2 separate regions of the Homo sapiens genome follow, and region 1 is linked to region 2. Evidence: promoter capture Hi-C in human tissues and cell types (Jung and others, 2019). All regions are on one chromosome and are shown on one strand. Each heading gives the region's core, a stretch centred on a gene start or on the middle of the fragment in contact. The rest is flanking DNA. Distances are from core to core; before and after follow the strand shown. Region 1 overlaps RANBP17 (RAN binding protein 17). Region 2 holds the start of TLX3 (T cell leukemia homeobox 3).

Region 1 (3,954 bases), core at 610-3,109, 41 kb before region 2:
TGACCAATATGGTCAAACCCCATCTCTACTAAAAATACAAAAATTAGCCAGGCGTGGTGGTGCTCACCTGTAGTCCCAGCTAGTCGGGATGCTGAGGCAGAAGAATCGTGTGAACCTGGGGAGGCAGAGGTTGCAGTGAGCTGAGATCACACCACTGCACTACAGCCTGGATGACAGAGCAAGACTCCATCTCAAAAAAAAAGAAAAAAGAAAATTTAAAAATTTTTAAAAAAACATACATGCCAAAAATATTTCAAAAAGAACAATACCATTTTTTATGGCTATACCATCACTATATTTTCTTTTCTTTTTTTTTTTTTTTTTTTTGAGACAGGGTCTCACTCTGTTGCCTTTGCTGTAGTGCAGTGGCACAATCTGGGCTCACTGCAACCTCTGTCTCTCAAGGTCTCAAGCGATCCTCACACTTCAGCCTCTTCCTGAGTAGCTGGGACTACAGGTGCACACCACCACATCCAGCTAATTTTTTTTTTTTTTTTTGGAGAGAAGGAGTTTTGCCACGTTGCCAGGCTAGTAGGCTAGTTTTGAACTCCTGAGCACAAACAGTCCTCCCACCTCAGCCTCCCAAGGTGCTGGGATTACAGGTGTGAGCCACTGCACCTAGCCCTATCACTGTGTTTTCTAATTCCACTAAATTTGGAAAGTATCTTCATCCTGTTTTCAGTTGTTTTCTTTTGCCAAATTACATCCATAATAGTTTGTAATTTGCAAATGTAAACACATCAATAGTGTGTTGCTATATGACCGTTAGGGAGCAAATAAGTTGCCTGCAATCATCAGAAAATGTTGGCCGGGCGCAGTGACTCACGCCTGTAATCTCAGCACCTTTGGGAGGCCAAGGCAGGTGGATCATGAGGTCAGGAGTTCGAGACCAGCCTGGCCAATATGGCGAAACCCTGTCTCTACTAAAAATACAAAAATTAGCTGGGCATGGTGGTGTGTGCCTGTATTCCCAGCTATGTGGGAGGCTGAGGCAGGAGAATTGCTTGAACCTGGGAAGCAGAGGTTGCAGTGAGCGAGATCACACCACTGCACTCCAGCTTGGCGACAGAGCTCCATCTCAAAAAAAAAAGAAAAAGAAAAAGAAAATGTCACTCTATATCAGTAAATGATGAAAATAGAATGAGACAGCTATGAAAGAAGGTTCCTTCCTGGCTGCCATTTTTTGCTAATATTTAAATGAAATTATGTAAACTTTATTTGTGGTAATGTTTCAGTTAACCAATTATTTTCCAGGGATAATGGATGTCATTCATATTTTGTGTAACTAGGCAAAGGGCTGTAGACTTATAATTATTTGGTGTGACCCTGGAACTGTTACAACATGTTGGTAATATAAAGGAAAAAGGAAGGTATCTCACATTTAGTGAGAACTTATTATGTGTCAGGTGCAAGAGCTATTAAGATTCACGAGATATAATTTCTCTCCTTACAAAATTTCTTGCCATGGGACAAAGAGACAAGTAACTCACCAGTTATTTGATCATTTCATTAATATAGTGATGACAAAGAAAGTAAAATTCAAGGGGAGGGAGTATTGTCAAAGAGTTCTCCTCATTTAGACCCCACAACAACCCTGAAAAATGGATATCAGCATCCCCATTTTACAGATGAATAAATTGAGGTACAGAGAGATCAACTGGAAAGTGGTAGAGTTGGAATTTGAAGCAAGGTCTGTTTGACTGAAAAGCGCAAGTTCTTACTACTCACACCATTGGTATTCAAGGTGAGGATAATATCTCAGCTTCACCTGGAATGGCTTTTCAAAATATACATGCTATCAAAATGTCAGCGCGTCTCTCCTCCCTCCCCACCCCACCCAAATGCAGTAACCACTGGTACTGGTGGGAGTGTGTCACAGCCCTCATGTGTTTTGCATGAAGAAGGTTGAGGATCACTGACTTAAAGCATGTCCACACTGAAGAAAAAAAAAAAATTCATGGATTGGCTAGGAATCAGACCCAGCCTTTACCCCACCATGGCAAGGGACAAGTCTGCCACCAAATCACTCCTTCCAGCACTCAACCATAATCACAGTATTGTCCCATAAACTTTGGCAGAAACTTTTAAGTTGGTAGAAAATTTTAGCACAAATCAACAGGCTATGGCCCTAGACAAAATACCATATCATGTTTTGCAAAGGAAGTAATGTGGTTGGGCAGGAGACAAATCAAGTTTGTCTTTACTCAGAATTAGCGTGCATTTGTTGGTTTAAGTAATTTCTGTGTGTTAATAATACTTGTTAATCCTTCACTTTATAGCATATGACTAAGTAGTGATATATCTTTATTAACAGTGGAATACTTTCTATTTATTTGGAATGTAGGCTTTCAGATAGCATTTTAAATATTAATGACTGGGCTCTGGTAGTCAGCATAAATATGATTTGCATTAGCACTAGGTTATATCATCTTGAGTGCCTCTGATGTCAGCTATTAGGTATAGTAATATCTGACATCATCTCCTTAGGTTACTGACAACTTTGACCTCTATTCTTATGCACAGTTTCTGTCGTCTCAAAAGCTCTTTTGAATTGATTTGAAATTTTGACTCTTCCCTTTATGAGGCAGTAAAATTGATAATTATTCAGATGGGAACAGAGTGCTGAGTGAAAAATCAATTCCACCCGCTCTCTGCTGCGTATAAAATTACTTCTGAGTCGGCTGGACTGAACGGATGGCCAGAGTAAAAGCGGCAGGCAGGAGTAGTGGGAAGAATTAGCTGGACAGAACTAATAGCCTGAAGGGATGGACTTGAAAAAGAGGGAGTGGGCCAGTTGGGGGTTATTATTAGCAGGGATGGGTCCCATTGATCATCTGTTTACATCAGCTTTCCAAGACCTTATAAATCAGCCCTGAAGAGGAGCAGAACCCAAGATTCAGCCTGTTACCAGTGGGATTTTGTATTGGATTATTTTCATTTTCACACTCAGATGAAAAGTGAGCCATTGATTATTCATTGGTTGCCCATTAAATGCTGTTTTTAATAGATGATTTGCCTATTGCAGAAGGTAATGAACAAGGTTGCTGCTTTATAACTTGAGGTTTCAGTTTTCAAGGCATCTGTGTCGGTTAAGTAATGCCTAACCCTATTAAAAGGAATGGATTACAAATTGCTTAACAGTGCTGAAAAACTAGACCCTAATGACTAATTGTGCTTGGAGTTTAGAGAGGGTTTGTCAGCTCTTTAAACTAAACTGATGCAATGATACTGCAATTATTTACTAGTTTGAACTGTTTTTCCCCCCAACCTGGTCCTATTTTGCTGGAAGCATAATTGCATGAGGAATGTTAATTCCAAATTGCAAAAGTTATCTCCTCAAGCTTCCGTAGTAAAGGAAGCATGAACCCCCACATAAAGGTTTTCCAACATCCTTACAGGCCTTTCCATTTGTGTATAGCAGCCTGGGAAAGATATTTTATGTGCCTCCCACCTGGAATTGTGTTTATTATTCTCTTCTATGTGGCTTTAGAGCTTCAAAATTTTTAAAAATGTTCTCCAAATAATCCATTTTTCATATTTTGCAAACAACTCTAACTTTGCAAGCATTAAAATTTAGTCCATATGAAGATCCATTGTAAGTAAGTGAATCTATTTGAAGTAAAAACAATTGCGTCACCAGCGTTGCTTTGACCTAACAGTTGAGAAAAACCCAGTTTACAGAAATGAAGGTGGAAAATTCTCCAAGCATTTTTATGTTATTAGAAGGATAAACTAAAAATTTAAGGAGAGCCCAACCGTAACAGTGATCAGATTACTAATTACTACTGATTAGTAGCAGATAAGACACTGATCTGCTACAATAATTCGGAAGACAACATTTCTATGTGAAATTTTTTCAGTTTCGTCACTGATCAGTAAGTATTTGTATCTATAATACATAGTTATAGATACATAGCATTCATTTCGTTATATCACAGTGAAAGATTTTGCCCA
Region 2 (3,926 bases), core at 387-2,886:
AGAAGAGAGAAAGAATCCCCAACCTGCACCTCCTGTCTTTCCCCGTCCTCTGAAACTGACCCTACTGGTAGACAAATACACCTTTCTCTCCAACGTACTGAGCCCCTGCAAATAAAATTAAACTGCCAACAAAATAAACAAGAGTCACAACAATAATACATCAGCCATTACTCTGGGGGGATAGAGTGGGAGGTGAGCCACGCTGCCCAGTGCCTACTACGTGCCAGGCCCAGTGCTCTGCGCTCCCTCAATATCTCACTCGCGGCTCACGAACAACCCGCATGCATGCATTATTTTCCTTTTTTGCAAACGAGAAAACCGAAATCTAAATATATAGAGTCAATTTCTCAAGGTCACTCAGCGAGGAAATGGCCAGTCCAAATTTGAACACACTTCTGGCCAACAACAGCACATCCGAGCTCTCACCACTGTCCACACCACAAGGAGCGGGAGGAAGAACCCAGGCCAGGGGTGCGACACTCAAAGAGTTTGCACCTAACGATTTTAGAATTCGCTGGAAGAAAATGATTCCGCTTGTCTCCCCAAAGCTGCAGCGGAAGGTGACTACTTCGTGTGCGGTCCTGTCCACGGTGCCCTGGGCCGGGTAGACAGTCACTGAGGCGCGAGCAGAACGGGGAGTGGTTCCAGCGCCCAAAGTGGACTGGAGCCGGGAAGGGCTCACCAGTCGCGTTTCCCAAAGAAATCCCGCAATTTGCTCTAGGAGCTGCCCGCGCCTTTGACATTCAGGAACCCGAAGTCCCTAGACCCGCCGAGCCGCGAGCGGGTTCCCACGCGCGACCACAGCCCCCTTCCATCCTGCAACGAATTACGAGAGTCAGGTCCCCGCTCCCCACCGGGCGACCCCGCGTCCCTAGCCCAGCCGCAGCTGGCACGCGTGGGCACCTGCGAGTCACGCCTCGGTCCGCCTGGCCGGAGCCAGGGAGTGTCTCCAAAGTGGCCGCGAGGCCGCGGCCGAAACCCGGGCGGGGGCGAATTCTCCCCACGCGGGTCGGCGTCATCCGGGGCGCGGAGAACGCTACGGTGCTCCCCTCGCCCCGCGCGCAGGCAGCGCGAAGCCTGCCCCGGGTAGTGCGCCCCTTTCGTTCCTCCGGCGGCGGTAGCGTCCAAGGGGCTTCTGCGGATTCCGCCGGGTCGTCCCGGGGTTGCAACTCCATTGTACCTGAAAGGATGCATTTGGTTTGGCTTTTGCTCAGATGAAAAAAAAAAAAAATTGGAAGAAAACGAAAACCCACTCAGCAAAAGACAATTTCACAAGCGGAGCGCTCTACCCACCCAGCGCGGTGTCTGGGAAGCGGCCCGGCCCGGAGGAGCGGGGAGCGTCTGCTAATTGCAGCTTCGTTAGATTTCGGGTTTGGGAGGCTGTGGTTCGGGCTCTAATATCCGCCGCCCATTATCCCTGCTAATAAATTTGACCTATTGTTCGTTTGTTAAAATGATGTCACCTTGGAACAGTCCCTAAGCTCCTATTTCCATGAATTAGGCCTTTATTGAAAGCCGGGAGCCAATGAGAGGAGAGAGGCTTGTTGATCGCAGCCAATGGCTGCGGCAGGAGAGGAATTAGCAGCGGAAACTCCAGGTTCGGTTCAAGAAAGATGACACAGAGCCTGTCGGGCCCGCGCACTCTTGGCAAAGTTTCAGTGCGACGAGAGGCGCCGGGCGCTCCATGGCCGCGCCGTAACGGGGACCCAGCCGCCTCCCCGCCCAGCCCAGCCCAGCCCTTCCGCCCGCCCAGGATGGAGGCGCCCGCCAGCGCGCAGACCCCGCACCCGCACGAGCCCATCAGCTTCGGCATCGACCAGATCCTTAACAGCCCGGACCAGGACAGCGCACCCGCCCCGCGGGGCCCCGACGGCGCCAGCTACCTGGGAGGGCCCCCCGGGGGCCGTCCGGGCGCCACATACCCGTCTCTGCCCGCCTCCTTTGCGGGCCTCGGCGCGCCCTTCGAGGACGCGGGATCTTACAGTGTGAACCTGAGCCTAGCGCCCGCAGGCGTGATCCGGGTGCCGGCGCACAGGCCGCTGCCCGGGGCCGTGCCACCGCCTCTGCCAAGCGCGCTACCCGCCATGCCCTCCGTGCCCACGGTCTCCAGCCTTGGCGGTCTCAATTTCCCCTGGATGGAGAGCAGCCGCCGCTTCGTGAAAGACCGCTTCACAGGTGAGCAGAGCTGGCGACCAGGCTCCAGGCCTCCGCCCTCTCGGGGCCAGAGGCGCCGCGCCCTGTGCGCTCCACTCCCGGAAACCATTTCAGAGGCCCAAGCGCGGCGGAGGCCTCGGCCCCAGGGCCCCGGGCAGCCGTGGTGGGGAGGGTAATCGGAGAGTTGCAGGAAAATAAGCCCGTGCCCGGGGGAAGGGACAGGGGGCGAGGGGGTCTCCCGACCGGCTTGGTGTCTCTGGAAACGCGCGCGACCAGCGAAATAGCGGAGCTCTCCGTGTCCCACGGGGCGCCACGGGGTCCGCATGGGGCCTGAACGGTGGCGGAGCCGGGCTGGGCTTCAGGGGCCCTCCTGTGTCTCCGCAGCGGCGGCCGCACTCACGCCCTTCACCGTGACCCGGCGCATCGGCCACCCCTACCAGAACCGGACGCCGCCCAAGCGTAAGAAGCCGCGCACGTCCTTTTCCCGGGTGCAGATCTGCGAGCTGGAAAAGCGCTTCCATCGCCAGAAGTACCTGGCCTCTGCCGAGAGGGCGGCGCTCGCCAAGTCCCTCAAAATGACGGACGCGCAGGTCAAGACCTGGTTCCAAAACCGGAGGACCAAGTGGCGGTGAGAGAGGCCTGACCCGGCCCACCTTACACCTGCCCTTCACCTGTCCCGCCCCGAGCCGCAGCCTCGCACTAGCCCTATTTTAAGGCTATCCACTACCCCCGCCCCCCTCTGCCTCCCCCAAACACACCCCCACCCCGCCTTCGCAGATTGTACCTCTTCCTTTCACCCTTCTCGCTGGCCTGTGCTTCTCTCTCCATCGTGGTCTCCCACGCCTTGGTTTCTCCTCCATCCCCATCCCCATCTTTCGTGAGCCCCTCCAACTCTCTCCCCGTGTTTTGTACGGTCTCCTGCGTTCACTTGATTTCCTCTCACCCACCCCCGCCCCAAACACACAGGCACACACACACACACACACACGCGCACACACACGGGCCTCTCGCACTCTCCTTCTCCTCCTTCTTCCAGCCCGCCCTCTCGGATTTTCAACAATCCTCGTGGACGCCGGTTTCCTCTCCCCCCATCTCCGCGTCTCCATTCCAGCCGCGTTTTTATCCGATCTCTGTTTTGATTCAACCCGTAAACGGCGAAGCGATCGCGTCTGGAAAGGGGTTCAAGACAGGCCCTGGGCGAACTGGATGAGACTGACCCAGCCCCCGGGCGTCGTGCGGGTGGTGCAGAGCCAGCCTGCTCACCCGCGGACCCCAGCGACCCCGGTTCCCGCAGGGCCAAGTCAGTTACACATAGGCCCTGCCCTTGCTATCTGGCGAAAGGAACAATCTTTATTGTTGGTGAAGCCACAATACCCGGGCGTGCAGGTGGGCGGCGGGCAGAGTCCCCTCCTGGAGACCCTCTGGCACACAACAAAAACAAATGATCCTAACCGGCTCCCTGGATATAAGAGCCTCGGGCGTAAAGCGCGGGCTGGGAGGCAGACGGGTTCTGCGCCTCGAGGCTCCCGGATGGCCTCGGCTCCCGGGAGGGCCGGGGCCCCGCCGGCGGCCCCGCGGTGCCGGGTGCATGACGGTACTGTCCCTCTCCCTCCCCCGGTGCAGGCGGCAGACGGCGGAGGAGCGGGAGGCGGAGCGGCAGCAGGCGAGCCGGCTCATGCTGCAGCTGCAACACGACGCCTTCCAAAAGAGCCTCAACGACTCCATCCAGCCTGACCCGCTCTGTCTGCACAACTCGTCACTCTTTGCTCTGC

What was found. Contacts are between HindIII fragments. The study calls those that stand out against the background at their distance.
Region 1: a contact is called between a fragment that was not itself captured here and the fragment with the promoter of TLX3 in region 2, in 1 of the 25 tissues and cell types used here (thymus).

What each region holds. Positions count from the first base shown.
Region 1 is chr5:171,266,720-171,270,673 of GRCh38, forward strand. The region is part of intron 25 of RANBP17 (RAN binding protein 17); the gene reads left to right. Among named protein-coding and RNA genes, the nearest start is that of TLX3, 41 kb to the right of the region's middle. The HindIII fragment of the contact is 3,677 bases long and covers 22-3,698 here.
Region 2 is chr5:171,307,612-171,311,537 of GRCh38, forward strand. It overlaps TLX3 (T cell leukemia homeobox 3), which reads left to right and starts at 1,637. Exons shown (of 3, transcript NM_021025.4): 1 at 1,637-2,175; 2 at 2,539-2,782; 3 at 3,778-3,926. The coding sequence starts at 1,755. RefSeq lists enhancers at 244-1,128, 1,129-2,014, 2,015-2,899, 2,900-3,785. The HindIII fragment of the contact is 20,402 bases long and covers 1-3,926 here.